2 separate regions of the Homo sapiens genome follow, and region 1 is linked to region 2. The links are contacts of gene promoters, found by promoter capture Hi-C in blood cells and fetal thymus (Javierre and others, 2016). All regions are on one chromosome and are shown on one strand. The core of a region is centred on a gene start or on the middle of the fragment in contact, and the rest is flanking DNA. Distances in the headings are between cores, read along the strand shown.

Evidence for each region. Contacts are between HindIII fragments. The CHiCAGO score rates a contact against its expected background, and 5 or more counts as called.
Region 1: a contact is called between a fragment that was not itself captured here and the fragment with the promoter of PLAC9 in region 2, in 1 of 17 cell types (M1 macrophages). The highest score is 5.6, in M1 macrophages.

Annotation. Positions count from the first base shown.
Region 1 is chr10:80,262,988-80,269,326 of GRCh38, reverse strand. No RefSeq gene overlaps it. Among named protein-coding and RNA genes, the nearest start is that of MAT1A, 24 kb to the left of the region's middle. RefSeq lists enhancers at 3,971-4,501, 4,502-5,033. The HindIII fragment of the contact is 1,723 bases long and covers 4,152-5,874 here.
Region 2 is chr10:80,128,220-80,134,758 of GRCh38, reverse strand. PLAC9 (placenta associated 9) reads right to left here and starts at 2,029. Exons shown (of 4, transcript NM_001012973.3): 1 at 1,933-2,029. The coding sequence starts at 1,996. The HindIII fragment of the contact is 6,415 bases long and covers 1-4,084 here.

The sequences.
Region 1 (6,339 bases), core at 3,764-6,263, 130 kb before region 2:
ATACCGTTACAGGTCACAGAGGACTAGAGAGACCAGTATGGGTGAATATAGGAGGGTATTTATTTTAAGGTGTGCACTGGCTCAGTGGATTCACATCCAAAAAGCTGAGCCTTGAACAAAGACTGAGCAGGATTTTTATAGGCAATCTACAGAAGCAAAACAAAGGCAGTTAATCATATAATGACAGGTCACATAATCTATAGCATAACTGATGACTTGGCATAACTTGTGGCCTTGCATAGCTGGTGGCCTTCTAGCTGCATCAAAAGAAAAAACAAGAACTGGCTAAATACAGATATTTGTCCTTTTTTTTTTCTTTTCCTTCACCCTTGCTCCTGAGGTGGGGTGTCTGGAGCCTATTCCTTTGGTTTCAACTTCTCGAACAGCGTTATCTTATAACTGTCCTTGAAGTGAGCTTGCTAGGCAGAGGAAAACTTGTTTGTCTTTTCTTTTTAACCCTTGCCTTGCCACATTCTGGGCCTTGGCTTTTACTTTTCTTGGAGTGAATGAATGCAGTACTTATTATTTTTAAATTTCTGCCTCCATACAATTGATCACTCTGCACTTCAGTTGCTTCAACCCTAGAAGTAACCGTGGCATGCCAATGAGGAAGACATCTCATGTCAGAGGTCCCAGAGAAATGTAATATCCAATGAGGGGCAGACACATAGGAGGTATGAATGGGGCTCAGGAGGTGGGAGCTTGGTCTGAAAAGTATAGGAGGTACTTTGGAGTTGGCAGTGGATGGAGGAATATGGGATGAGAGTTGAGTCTGGGGAAAATAATTAGCTCAGCAGGGGTTAGCTGGGATGAAAGGCATGGGGTGGGAACTTTAGAATAACTTTATGCCTGTGGCAAATTCCCTAGAGTAAGTATGACTCAGGCACAGTGTAAGAGGCAATGTGACAGACATCTGGTCCCTGGCCTATGAGGTCTTCTTCCTTCCTACCATAATGCCTCCATGAGGAACGTTTGGAGAAAGAAGGAACAAGGACTGTGTTCTGAGTTTGGTTCATGTCGGCTCAGATGCAGAACAATGTGGGTAGATAAATAATTCAGTGGGGAGAGGAAATCAACCCAAGGGAACAGGAGAGCTTACAACCTCAACAGTGGAGTCCCTATAATATGGGAGGTTTGTCAGACACTTTCATGTGACTCTTATGGGACAGGATGGAAATCAGAAGCCAAATAATTTGCTGTCTTAGTCTTTTCAGGCTGCTATAACAAAATAACAAACGGGGTGGCCTATAAATAACAGAAATTTGTTTCTCACAGTTCTCGTAGCTGGAAGTTTGAGAGCTGGGTGCCAGCATGGTTGGTTCTGGAGAGGTCCCACTTCTGGGTACAAATGGCCAACTTCTCATTGCATCCTCACACGGCAGAAAGAGGGTGAGAGAGCTGGGGTGTGTGTGATAAGGGCACCAATCCCATTTATGAGGGCCCCGCCTCTGAAAGGTCCCACCTCCTGATATCACATTGGAGGTTAGGATTTCAACATCTGAATTTGGGGGGACACAAACATTGACTCCATAACACTTGCCAAATCTGATTTCTTAAAAATGAAATTCTTGTGCATTAGGAAAAAGCCACAAGTAAGGGTAAAAGATAAGTGACAGAGTAGAAAATATTTGAATGGAGTGAACCGCAGCTCAATAAGAAAGCAATACAAGCCCCAGTAGGAAATGGAAAAAACTAGACGGATAGGAATAAGTAAATATAATCAAAGAAATGGAGAAAGTCAGGAGAAACAAAGGTTGCTCAATTGTACTTGTTTCAAAAAATAAACACTTTAAAAAATGCAACATTGTATTTCGGCAAACAGATGGCGAGAAAAAAAAAAGAAAGGAAAGAAAAGAAATAAATAAAAAGATTTGAAGACAGTGTGGCGATTCCTCAGGGATCTAGAACTAGAAATACCATTTGACCCAGCCATCCCATTACTGGGAATATATCCATAGGATTATAAATCATGCTGCTATAAAGACACATGCACATGTATGTTTATTGCAGCACTATTCACAATAGCAGACTTGGAACCAACCCAAATGTTCAACAACGATAGATTGGATTAAGAAAATGTGGCACATATACACCATGGAATACTATGCAGCCATAAAAAATGATGAGTTCATGTCCTCTGTAGGGACATGGATGAAGCTGGAAACCATCATTCTCAGCAAACTATCACAAGGACAAAAAACCAAACACCTCATGTTCTCACTCATAGGTGGGAATTGAACAATGAGAACACTTGGACACAGGAAGGGGAACATCACACACCGGGGTCTGTTGTGGGGTGGGGGGCGATAGCATTAGGATATATACCTAATGTAAATGACGAGTTAATGGGTGCAACACACCAACATGGCCCATGTATACATATGTAACAAACCTGCACGTTGTGCACGTGTACCCTATAACTTAAAGTATAATAAAAAATTTTAAAAAAAAAAGAAAAAGAAAAAGGTTTTTAAAATCCAGGGCTGGCAAAGATATAAGGAAATAGATATCCCCAAACACAGTTGATCGGTATAACTTGGTACAGACTTTCTGGATGAAAATATGGTTCTTCTTGAAATGTAAATGTCATGTCTGCCTAGTTTGACCTTGCGGTCAGAGGTGGCATCAAGATAGAGACAATCGCTTTGCTCCCAGGCCTAGGGGACAGAACCCCAGGAGGGCAAGGTCAGCGTGTGCTGAATGGACTGGGGGATGGGGTGGGTGGATCTTAGGGAAGCATCCATTCTGGGCCACCAAAGCAGGGCTTCTCTCCTGCCCCAGGGTTGAGGTGGCTGCCTCTGGGGTGTTTGCAGGAGTGCCCACAGAAAGGCCCTGGGACACAAGGCCTGGCTGGGAGGAGCCCCCTCCTTCACAGGCCAAGACTGCAACTGCGGAGCCAGTCACAACAGCCTAAGAGGACAGGAATTCCTTTCCTCGGAGGCTGTCAGAATCCCAAGTGACCAGGAGGAAACAGGCTCTGGCAGGGGAAGACACTTTGGAGGACCACCCACTCAGAGAGCAGATTGTGTCCGTGGGCAGGATGGGAGCTAAGAGTGGGAGCCGGCTGGATCTCCCTCCACTTCCTCGAGATCTGCCCAGGACACTGCCTGGTTCCCGCTGCTCTGGAGGGACTGTTCCCGGGCTGTGAAGTCCTGGGATCCCGCTGTTCCTTTAGTTCTGAACAGTGTATTCTCCAGCAGGAGGGGCAGCCCTGGACTCCCAGGCTCTGTGCAGGCTTCCCAGAAGCCTCTCTGGGAGGAGTGGGGGCCACTGCCTTCCACTTCCCGTGGCAGCCCCTGGCCCTGGCCTCCTCCAGGGCTCTGCAACCCTCTTCAGGCCCCCTGGCATGGTATCCATGCCCTCCTCGGGAGAGTAAGTGGGGTGGGATGAGGTGGAGGCCGCGACCTGTATAGACAACCCAGGGCTGTTCCATCTTCACCCTTGGGCGAAAAGTAGCCCAGCAGCAGCTTCAGGGCCCCACCTCCCAACCCCCACCAGGCCGACCCCACTCCCACTTCCTGGGCTGCCCCGCCCCTCCCAGCAGGCATGGCCAGCTCTCTCCACCTCTAGCACTGAGCTCTACAAAGCAGCTCTGAACTTAGTTCTCTTCTATGTCTTTGGTTTTCTGTTTGATCTCATCTTTAATTGTATATTTCTGCTCCTCTCTTAAAAGAAAGGAAAGAAGCCATTTTTTTTTGTTTTTGGATTTTTGCATCAAAGCCTTCACAGTTTCTAAGACATTTTAATTCGTTTTGATCTCATTTCTGTTTCTCTGCTTTCCTTGTGTTTCTTTTCCATTTTTAACTTTCTGAACTGAATGTTGGTTTTGGTGGCTTTTTGATCCAAAATGGCTTATGGGGGAGTCATAAAATTCCTATGTGGCTGTTTTTCCTCAATTTTTCACTCATTTCTAGTTTCATTGACACGTTATTAATAGAAAATAATCTCTATTATTTGTACTTTCCAAACACATTTTTGAGATTTTCATTGTAGTCCAAAATGATGAATTTTAGTGTTATATGATCACCTGATGTTATCAGTGTATAGATTTGCATTTATTTCAATTTGTTAAATATTTAAAATTATATAATATATACATGTATATTTTTAATTATATATTTCAGGTATTTTGTGGACAGGGATTTTAAGCTTTCCTTAGGGAAGCAACTGACAAGAGAGAACAAGAAAGTGTGAATTCTGAGGAAGGGCAAGGGATGGTTTTGGGCCTCATCACTCACTCACTCACTCACTCACCTGTTCCTTCCTTCCGCGGCATTCCTTCCCTCCTTCCACTGAGAACCAAGCCGCCCCAGGCCCGCCCCGGACCCCTGGGGCCTGCGGTAAGGAGTGCAGTTATTTTGTGTGGACATATGTGCTCCACGCCAGCAGCCGGAGGAAGCCTTCCAGGCAGAGAGAACAGGGAGCGCTCAGGATGGGGAGAGTGCTCTGGGGCCACAGGAGGGGGTTCAGCAGAGGGCAGGGTGGAGGGTGTGATTCTATTGTCGCTGTGCCCCCACGCCTCTCCAGTGATAGTCTGCCCTGTTGCCAGGCACGGGTGTGGTTCTGGGCAGACCGTGGTCAGTGGTCTCAGTGTTTCGGCCCAGCTGGCCATGGTGGCTGCAAGAAGCTCTGCAGCAGCCTGGGAAATGGGGGAGGACCTTCAGCCTCGCGTGAGCTGCTTTATTGGTGAACCCAGCAGACTCCATGGAGCTTGAGGCAGAAGCAGGTGAGCACAAGTTTTGCTCGGCCTGGATCACCCTGGGAGGTGGTGAGGGTGTCATGGTATGCGTGTGGTGAAAGTTCTCTTGTTTTTGACAGACTTGTTTAACCAGGGGATGAAAGACATTCTGTGCAGAGATCAGGGACGTGCCACTGCAGTCCAGCAGTAGTTCAGTGGAATGTAAAACCCTCACCGAGTTTCACCTCGAGACAGAGGAGGTCAAAGCCCAGGAGTGCCTGCTGCCCTGGATGGGTCCAGCTTGTGATCTGGAGTTACAGAAGGTGACTTGAGGCTCTTGAAGAAAAGCTGGAGGGAACTGTTTCTTATTCTCAAAGCCAGATTCTGTGTCTCGAATGGAAACTCATGATCATTGGTGGAGAGCATGGGAGGCTGAAAGAAACCTCATCATCTCCAGACAAGAGGCACAGTCCCGAGGCAAGGAAAACGGACACAGTGATTCCCCGAGTTTCTGGACATGGATCCTCAAGCAGCTGATAACCCAGATGGAGCGTGATTGGGGGCATTTGCCCTCTGACCTCCAGGCGTGGACGCAGCCTCCTCTGACACTCCCCTCCCTTTATACCCCACCTCAGCTGCCAGCCTTTCCTCTGCCCTCTTCCCCTCCATTCCCAGAGCCTATGTTTCCAGTGAACTCAAATGTGGAGTTCATGGGAAGGAGACATCCTCTTCTGTCCCCTTCTCCAGGAAGCCTGGGTGAACTCCTGAGCCAGCTTCCATGAAGGGCTGCTTTCCTCCTTATCCCCACTCAGGGGCTGGAGCCCCCACCCAGAAAATGGGAAAGAGTTGCTTTCTGGCTTCTCATTGAGCCACCACATGATCCTGCCAGTCCAAATGCCCAATTACCACCAGGCCCTACATAATTTCTCAAATTTTCCCAAATGTATTTTTGAATTATTTATGAGGGGGCTTCAAAAAGTTCATGGAAAATGTGTATTATGAAAAAACTGTGCATGGACTTCAAATTTTTTTTACACCAAAATAAACTCACACTAACTTGTTATAATATTTCTGAATAGGGTCTAGTTTGAGGCACTGAGAAGGATCAGAGATTGGCTTGATAAGAGCACCTACCAGAGCAACATGAATTCTGTGAAAATTGAAGTAAAAACAAACATTAAATTCATGGTGAAGCTTGGGTGGAAGAATGGTGAAGTCATGGATGCTTTACCAAAAGTTTATGGGGACAACATCCCCCCCCCCAAAAAAATCAGCAGTTCACAAATGGAAAACACATTTTAAGAAAGGAAGAGATTTGAGACCAGCCTGGCCAACATGGTGAAACCTCATCTCTTCTAAAAATACAACAATTAGCTGGGTATGGTGGCATGCACCTGTAATCCCAGCAACTTGGGAGGCTGAGGTAGGAGAATCACTTGAACCCGTGAAGCAGAGGTTGCAGTGAGCTGAGATCATGTCACTGCACTCCAGTCTGGGTGACAGAGCAAGACTCCATCTCAAAAAAAAAACAACAACAAAAAAAAACCACAAGATTATGTGGAAGATGAAGTCCACAGCGGTAGACCATCCATATCAATTTGTAAGGAAAAATATTCATCTTCTTCATGCCATAATTGAAGAGGATCAATGATGAACAGCAG
Region 2 (6,539 bases), core at 780-3,279:
GGATCAAACAAATGAATTGCAAAAAGATATGACACAATCAATCAAGGACATTTGAACAGTGATTGAATATTTAATGATATTCAATCACACACAGTTTTTGGAGTATGATCATAGCATTGCAGTTATGTTTATTAAGAGTGCTTATCTCTTAGAGGTACACAAAGAAATATTTATAGATGAAAATACATGATGCCAGGCCAGGCATTGTGGCTCACACCTGTAATCCCAGCACTTTGGGAGGCCAAGGCAGGTGGATCACTTGAGCCCAGGAGTTCGAGACCAGCCTGGCCAACATGGTGAAACCCTATCTCTACTAAAAATACCAAAATTAGTCAGGTGTGGTGGTGCGTGCCTGTAGTCCCAGCTACTCAGGAGGCTGAGGCAGGAGAATCAGTTGAACCCGGGAGACGGAGGTTGCAGTGAGCTGAGATTGTGCCACTGCATTCTAGCATGGGTGACAGAATGAAATCCTGTCTCAAAAAAAAAAAAAAAAGAAAGAAAGAAAGAAAGAAAATATACAATGCCTGGATTTCCTTTAAAATAATCCAGGGAGGGGAGAGAGGGTGGAGGCTATAGATGAGATAAAACTGCCCATGAACTGATACTTCTTGAAGCAGCGTTGATAAGTATATTACATGATTCTTTCACATACTATTACTTTGTATTTTTTTGTATCCAAAAGTTTTCATAATCAAAAGTTAAGATATATCATCTAAAATCTGAAAGATTATGCACAAAAATATATGAAATCAGTGTGAAATTACACTAATACATGAATACTTTCCTCCTTTCCTTCTTCTTTTTTTTTTTTTTTTGAAACTGAGTCTTGCTCTGTCACCCAGGCTGGATTGCGGTGGCTTGATCTCGGCTCACTGCAACCTCCGCCTCCCAGGTTCAAGTGATTCTCCTGCCTCAGCCTGCCGAGTAGCTGGGACTACAGGCATGTGCCACCACGCCCGATTAATTTTTTGTATTTTTAATAGAGACAGCATTTCACCATGTTAGCGAGGCTGGTCTTGATCTCCTGAGCTTGTGATCCGCCCGCCTGAGGGGTAGGTGAGGGGAAGAAAGCGGACAGTGAAAAGCAAGGAACCCAGCTAATGGAGTACCCAGACAGCCTCTCTCCTCCGCACAGCTCTCCACCTCCACCCAGTCCCCCATCTCCACCCAACATAGCTCAGTTTCCCAGAGAAGCTCCCTGGAAACCGGGAGGCTGACTTCTTCACTGACTGCAGATCCACCTGAGGCCACCTGGCAGGTGAATCGGTGGCCTTTCTCCTGGGCCCGACTGCCTGGTTCCTTAAGGCTGTGCTGGGCTAGCCTGGGTCACTCATCCTTTGGAGTGTGGCTTCTTATGCAATGTCCTATAAAGCCAGGCCTGAGCCTCCACAGGCCCTCTGAGATGGAGCTGGCCTCCGGGGCTGCCCCACCCAGCAGCTGTGACCTCCCACTCCAGATCCTGGCTCCTTCTCTCTTGCCAGCTCTACTCCGGGCATCGAGCTTCCCTCTCTCTCCTTTTTGGTCTCTCTCAAATCTTTCTCTTTTCTTCAATATCCTCTCTCCCTCCACCCCTTGCCATTTTAATCACTTTTTCTCTTTCCTTCTTCTCTTTTGTCTCTCAAACTCCTTTTTCTTTCTATCTTAGTTCATATCTGTTCAGGGGAAGCCTCTTTCTGTCTCAGCCTCTCCTTTTTCCTTTTCACTGTGTATTCTTCCCTATCTCCTTTATCTCTCCGTTGCTCTACTTCTCTGCCTTTTTCTGAGTCTGTTTCCTCTCAATCTTTCTCTCCATCCCTCCCTCCCTGCATCTGCCTCTCTGTCCATCTCGCTGCTGTGTCCAGCTCTCTCTCCGTCTCTCTCGCTCATTCCTTCCTCGCCATCTGCGGGTCTCCCCGGCTCCAGGTCCCCTGCCGCGCCCTGCGCCCCACTCACCGGCCAAAGAGCCCGCGGCGCGGAGCAGGGCCAGTCCGGTCAGCGCGCAGAGCAGGGGCCGCATGGTGCCGGCCTGGCCGAGCGCAGCGCCGCGTCTGCCCGCAGCCGCCCTTCCCGGATCGCACCCGGCCGGCCCGAGAGGAAATGCACTCAGTTCGAGCCAAAATTCCTGGGCGGCTCCGGACTTTCTGGCTCGAGAGAACCCGCCCCCTCCAGAGGCCCCTCGGCACCCCGTGGGCAGCGCGGAGCCCAGAGACCCCGGGAGCTGAGGCACCGACGTGCCACCTGGGCGCCTCCCGAGGAAGGGGCCGCCCCCCGAGTCCCCGCACCTCCTGGGAGCCCGGGAGGGAAGGCGGGGCGGGGGGCATTGGGTGAGGTCTTGGGCTCAAGGCGACCGAGCCTGGGGTCAGGGGTTTGTTACGAGCCAGTTTCACAGGCGGGCAGACTAAGACTCGGAGGGAAGTGTCTTCCTCGGCATCACTCTCAGCCATAGCACAGGATCTGAACCCCTGTCTCCTGGGAGTTTGGCAGCTTTTCTCTGTCTACCTACGAACAAGAAATTAATTCTAATTACATGGAACAGTGTCTGCCCCTAAGAGGGAGACCCAGAAACTCACTGCTCTGGTAAGGGAGTGATAGAAATATGAAAAGGTAATTTTAAAAAGAAAAGGTAAAATCGTAACTCTCGCAAAGATATGAAATTAGCATATACTAAAGATTTTATTCAATTCATTATTAATGAGGGGATAAGTAAGATGGTACAAGCAGCCCAAAGTTTAGAGCACAGTAGTGGAAACTTCCCCTATGGGACATGCCCATCCAACAAGTGCAACAACAAATTAAGTTTTAGTAAAAACACAAAGCAAAAAAGCTGTAGCTCTAACTTCTCTGCTGCAGAGCCCTGAGTGAGTGTCTCGTCTGGCTGTAAGTGGAACACATTCATCACCAAGCCTGGGAGAATGCCTTTGTCCATCAAGGGTCCCCGTTGGGATTACCTGGAGCTCTTGCAGATCAAGGCTGCCTCTCTGCCTTCTGTGTTCCTGGCTGTGGCTATGCAATTGTCCAAAACAGTTACCACGCTAACCAGTGATCCAGTTCTCACTCCCTCCTCCAGAGCAAGATAGTAGCCTCAGACGGAGAAATTCTGGTTCTGAGCCCGAGAATCTGAGACAGACTCAGATCTAAATCTTTTAAAAGCCTTCAAGGAGATTATGATGCCCACATGAGCTGGCTCAGAAGAAGAATTTATTTCAGGAATGCCAAAAATTTCTCACGCTTGGTGGTAGGACATTCCTTGATAGTTTCGCCAGGTGGGAAAAAAAGTTGTCAAAGAACTGCCCAACTCATAAGGATTCTTGTAGCTTAGAGCCAGTGGGCTACCTTATATTTTGAATTTAAGACTAAGAAAACACACACACACACAAAAACATATACAATACATTATTGTTGCGGTAGAGCATAAAGTAATTAAGTATACAGAGTAAAACATGAAAGTCTTTTCTGTTACGAATTCCCTCCGTCCAATGATTCAGGTCCAGTCCCCTCAACTTGGTAGGCTCTGCCTGTTCCACGTCTATGCATTCCCCATCTACCTAATGTATATTCAGACACAAATGTATATACATGAGATCAAGTCATAGATATTTTGAAGATTTGCTTTCATTCATGTTTATCTCAGTCATAACATTAAATCTTGGCTGGGTGCAGTGGCTCACGCCTGTAATCCCAGCACTTTGGTAGGCCGAGGTGGGTGGATCACCTGAGGCCAGGAGTTTGAGACCAACCTGGCCAACGTGGTGAAACTCCGTCTCTGCTAAAAATACAAAAAATTAGCAGGGCGTGGTGTTGGGCGCCTGTAGTCCCAGCTACTCAGGAGGCTGAGGCAGGAGAATCAGAACCCAGGAGGCGGAAGTGGCAGTGAGCCAAGATTGCACCACTGCACTCCAGCCTGGGCAACAGAGCAAGACTCCATCTTAAAATAAAAGAAAATAATCTTGGAGATCAGTCTATGTGGGTACAGATAAATCCACTTCATTCCTTTTAAGAGTTAAAATATCCCATGAATGGATACAAGGAGCATTATTTATCCAAACAGTCCCCTATTGACAGACATGTAGATTGCTTCCTTTTTCTCTCCAATATAAAATAAGCTTTAATAAACATTCCTTTGCATATATCTTCATGTACGTAGTACATATTCCTGTATGTACATATTTCTGAAAGGCTGGAAGAGGAATCATTGCGTCAAAGGCCTTTTACATTTTGCCAGATAGGCCAAAAACTGTTCCCCAAATTGTTACTAAGCCCACAGGAGGGGCAAGGGGTCTTCCAGCGCTGTTCCAAGGTGCACCTGAGCATGTTAGTCTAGGTAGGAATTGGGCTGCAGGGGGCGCCATTTACATAAAATACTTCTGCGCTGGGCGCGGCGGCTCACGCCTGTAATCCCAGCACTTTGGGAGGCCGAGGCGGGTGGATCACGAGGTCAGGAGATTGAGACCATCCTGGCTAACATGGTGAAACCCCGTCTCTACTAAAAACACAAAAAATTAGCCGGGCGTGGTGGCGGGCGCCTGTAGTCCCAACTACTCGGGAGGCTGAGGCAGGAGAATGGCATGAACCCGGGAGGCGGAGCTTGCCGTGAGCCGAGATTGCGCCACTGCACTCCTGCAGTGTCACCCACTGCACTGGGTGACAGAGTGAGACTCCGTCTCAAAAACAAAACAGAACAAAAAAACAAAAAAAACCCTTCTGGATTGGAGATACCTGAAGTGTAAACCTATCAGTCACCTACATTCTCCAACACTGGATATTTATTATTTAAAATTTTGACAGCTTGATGATGGAAAATGTTACCTTGTTGTTATTGTTATTTACATGCTACTTGTTATGAGTGAGGTTAAGCTTTATTTGCTTCTTCGATTACTTTTTTCTATTTTCCTCCCTTTCCTTTATATACTCTGATTATTAATGCAATGCCTGTTATATATGTTGGCAATGTCTTCTTCCAGCCTTCCATTATATTTAAGTTTCTTGGTGGTGTCTTTCATCATTCAGAAGTTTTAAATATTAGGTAGCCAAATCTCTCAATATTTTCTTTTCTTTTTTTTTTTTTTTTTTTTTCTTTTTTGAGACGGAGTCCCTCTCTTTCGCCCAGGCCGGACTGCAGTGGCGTTATCTCGGCTCACTGCAACTTCCGCCCTCCTGGGTTCACGCCATTCTCCTGCCTCAGCCTCCCGAGTAGCTGGGACTACAGGCGCCCGCCACCGCGCCCGGCTAATTTTTTGTATTTTTTGTATTTTTTGTAGAGACGGGGTTTCACCGTGTTAGCCAGGATGGTCTTAATCTCCTGACCTCGTGATCCGCCCGCCTCGGCCTCCCAATATTTTCTTTTATGGCTTATAGAGTTTACAACTTGCTTATGATTCCTCGAATCAAGGCTGTAAAGATATTTTTCTATGTTTCCTTCAAACAGTTTTAAGGTTTTCTCAAGGTCTAATGTCTAATCCATCTAGAATTTTTATGTGGTTGCAAGGAAGGAATCAAACTTAAATTTTTCCCTAAATGGGTATCTAAATGTCCTAATGCTCTTTATTGCCTAGTCCATCCTTTTACCACTACTTTGAACATAAAGTAGTTGGCTAGCTACTCATTTCCGAGGGGAGTTCTGGGAAAATCTCTCTACATCATGTCTGTCACAAGGTCAAGGAAACAAAAATGCAAAACAGACATATAATTTCAATAAATACTGAAACCATATTTGATGAAATTAAACAGGCCTCCCTAACTTAAAAACAGTAATAACAACAAACTTAGGATAAAAATAAAGGAAATAATGGGACATTTCCTTAACAAGATAACTACCTTTAATTTTTATATTTATAGTTTTTCAAATTAAAAAAATAATAAAAATAGAGACGAGGGGTCTTGCTGTGTTGCCCAGGCTGGTCTTGAGCACCTGGGCTCAAGTAATCCTCCCGCCTCAGCTTCCCAAAGTGCTGGGATTACAGGAATGAGCCACCATGCCCCGCCAACTACTTTTATCTTAAATAGTTCATCTGTACATAACAGAGAAAGGAGAAATGTATTCTTTATTAAATCAGGAATGAGGTAAAGATGCCATTATTGGCCAGGCATGGTGGCTCATGCCTATAATCCCAGCACTTTGGGAGGCCAAGGTGGGAGGATCACTTGAGCCCAGGAGTTTGAAACCAACCTTGGGAACACAGCATGATCCCATCTCTACTAAAAATTAAAAAAAACACACACACATTAGCGGGGCGTTGTGGCACACACCTATTACTGGGGAGGCTGAAGCAGGAAGATCGCTTAAGCCTAGTAGTTTGAGGCTGCAGTGAGCTATAATCACACCACTGCACCCCAGCCTGGGTGACAGAGTGAGACACTGTTCTAAAAAATAAATAAATAATTTAAAAACTTAAAATTAAATTAAAAATTTAAAAAATAAAAAAAGATGCCACTATCAACAAGTGTTTGGCTGGGTGCAGTGGCTCATGCCTGTTAATCCCAGCACTTTGGGAGGCAGAGGCAGGTGGATCACTTGAGGTCAGGAGTTCGAGACCAGCCTGGCCAACATGGAGAAACCCTGT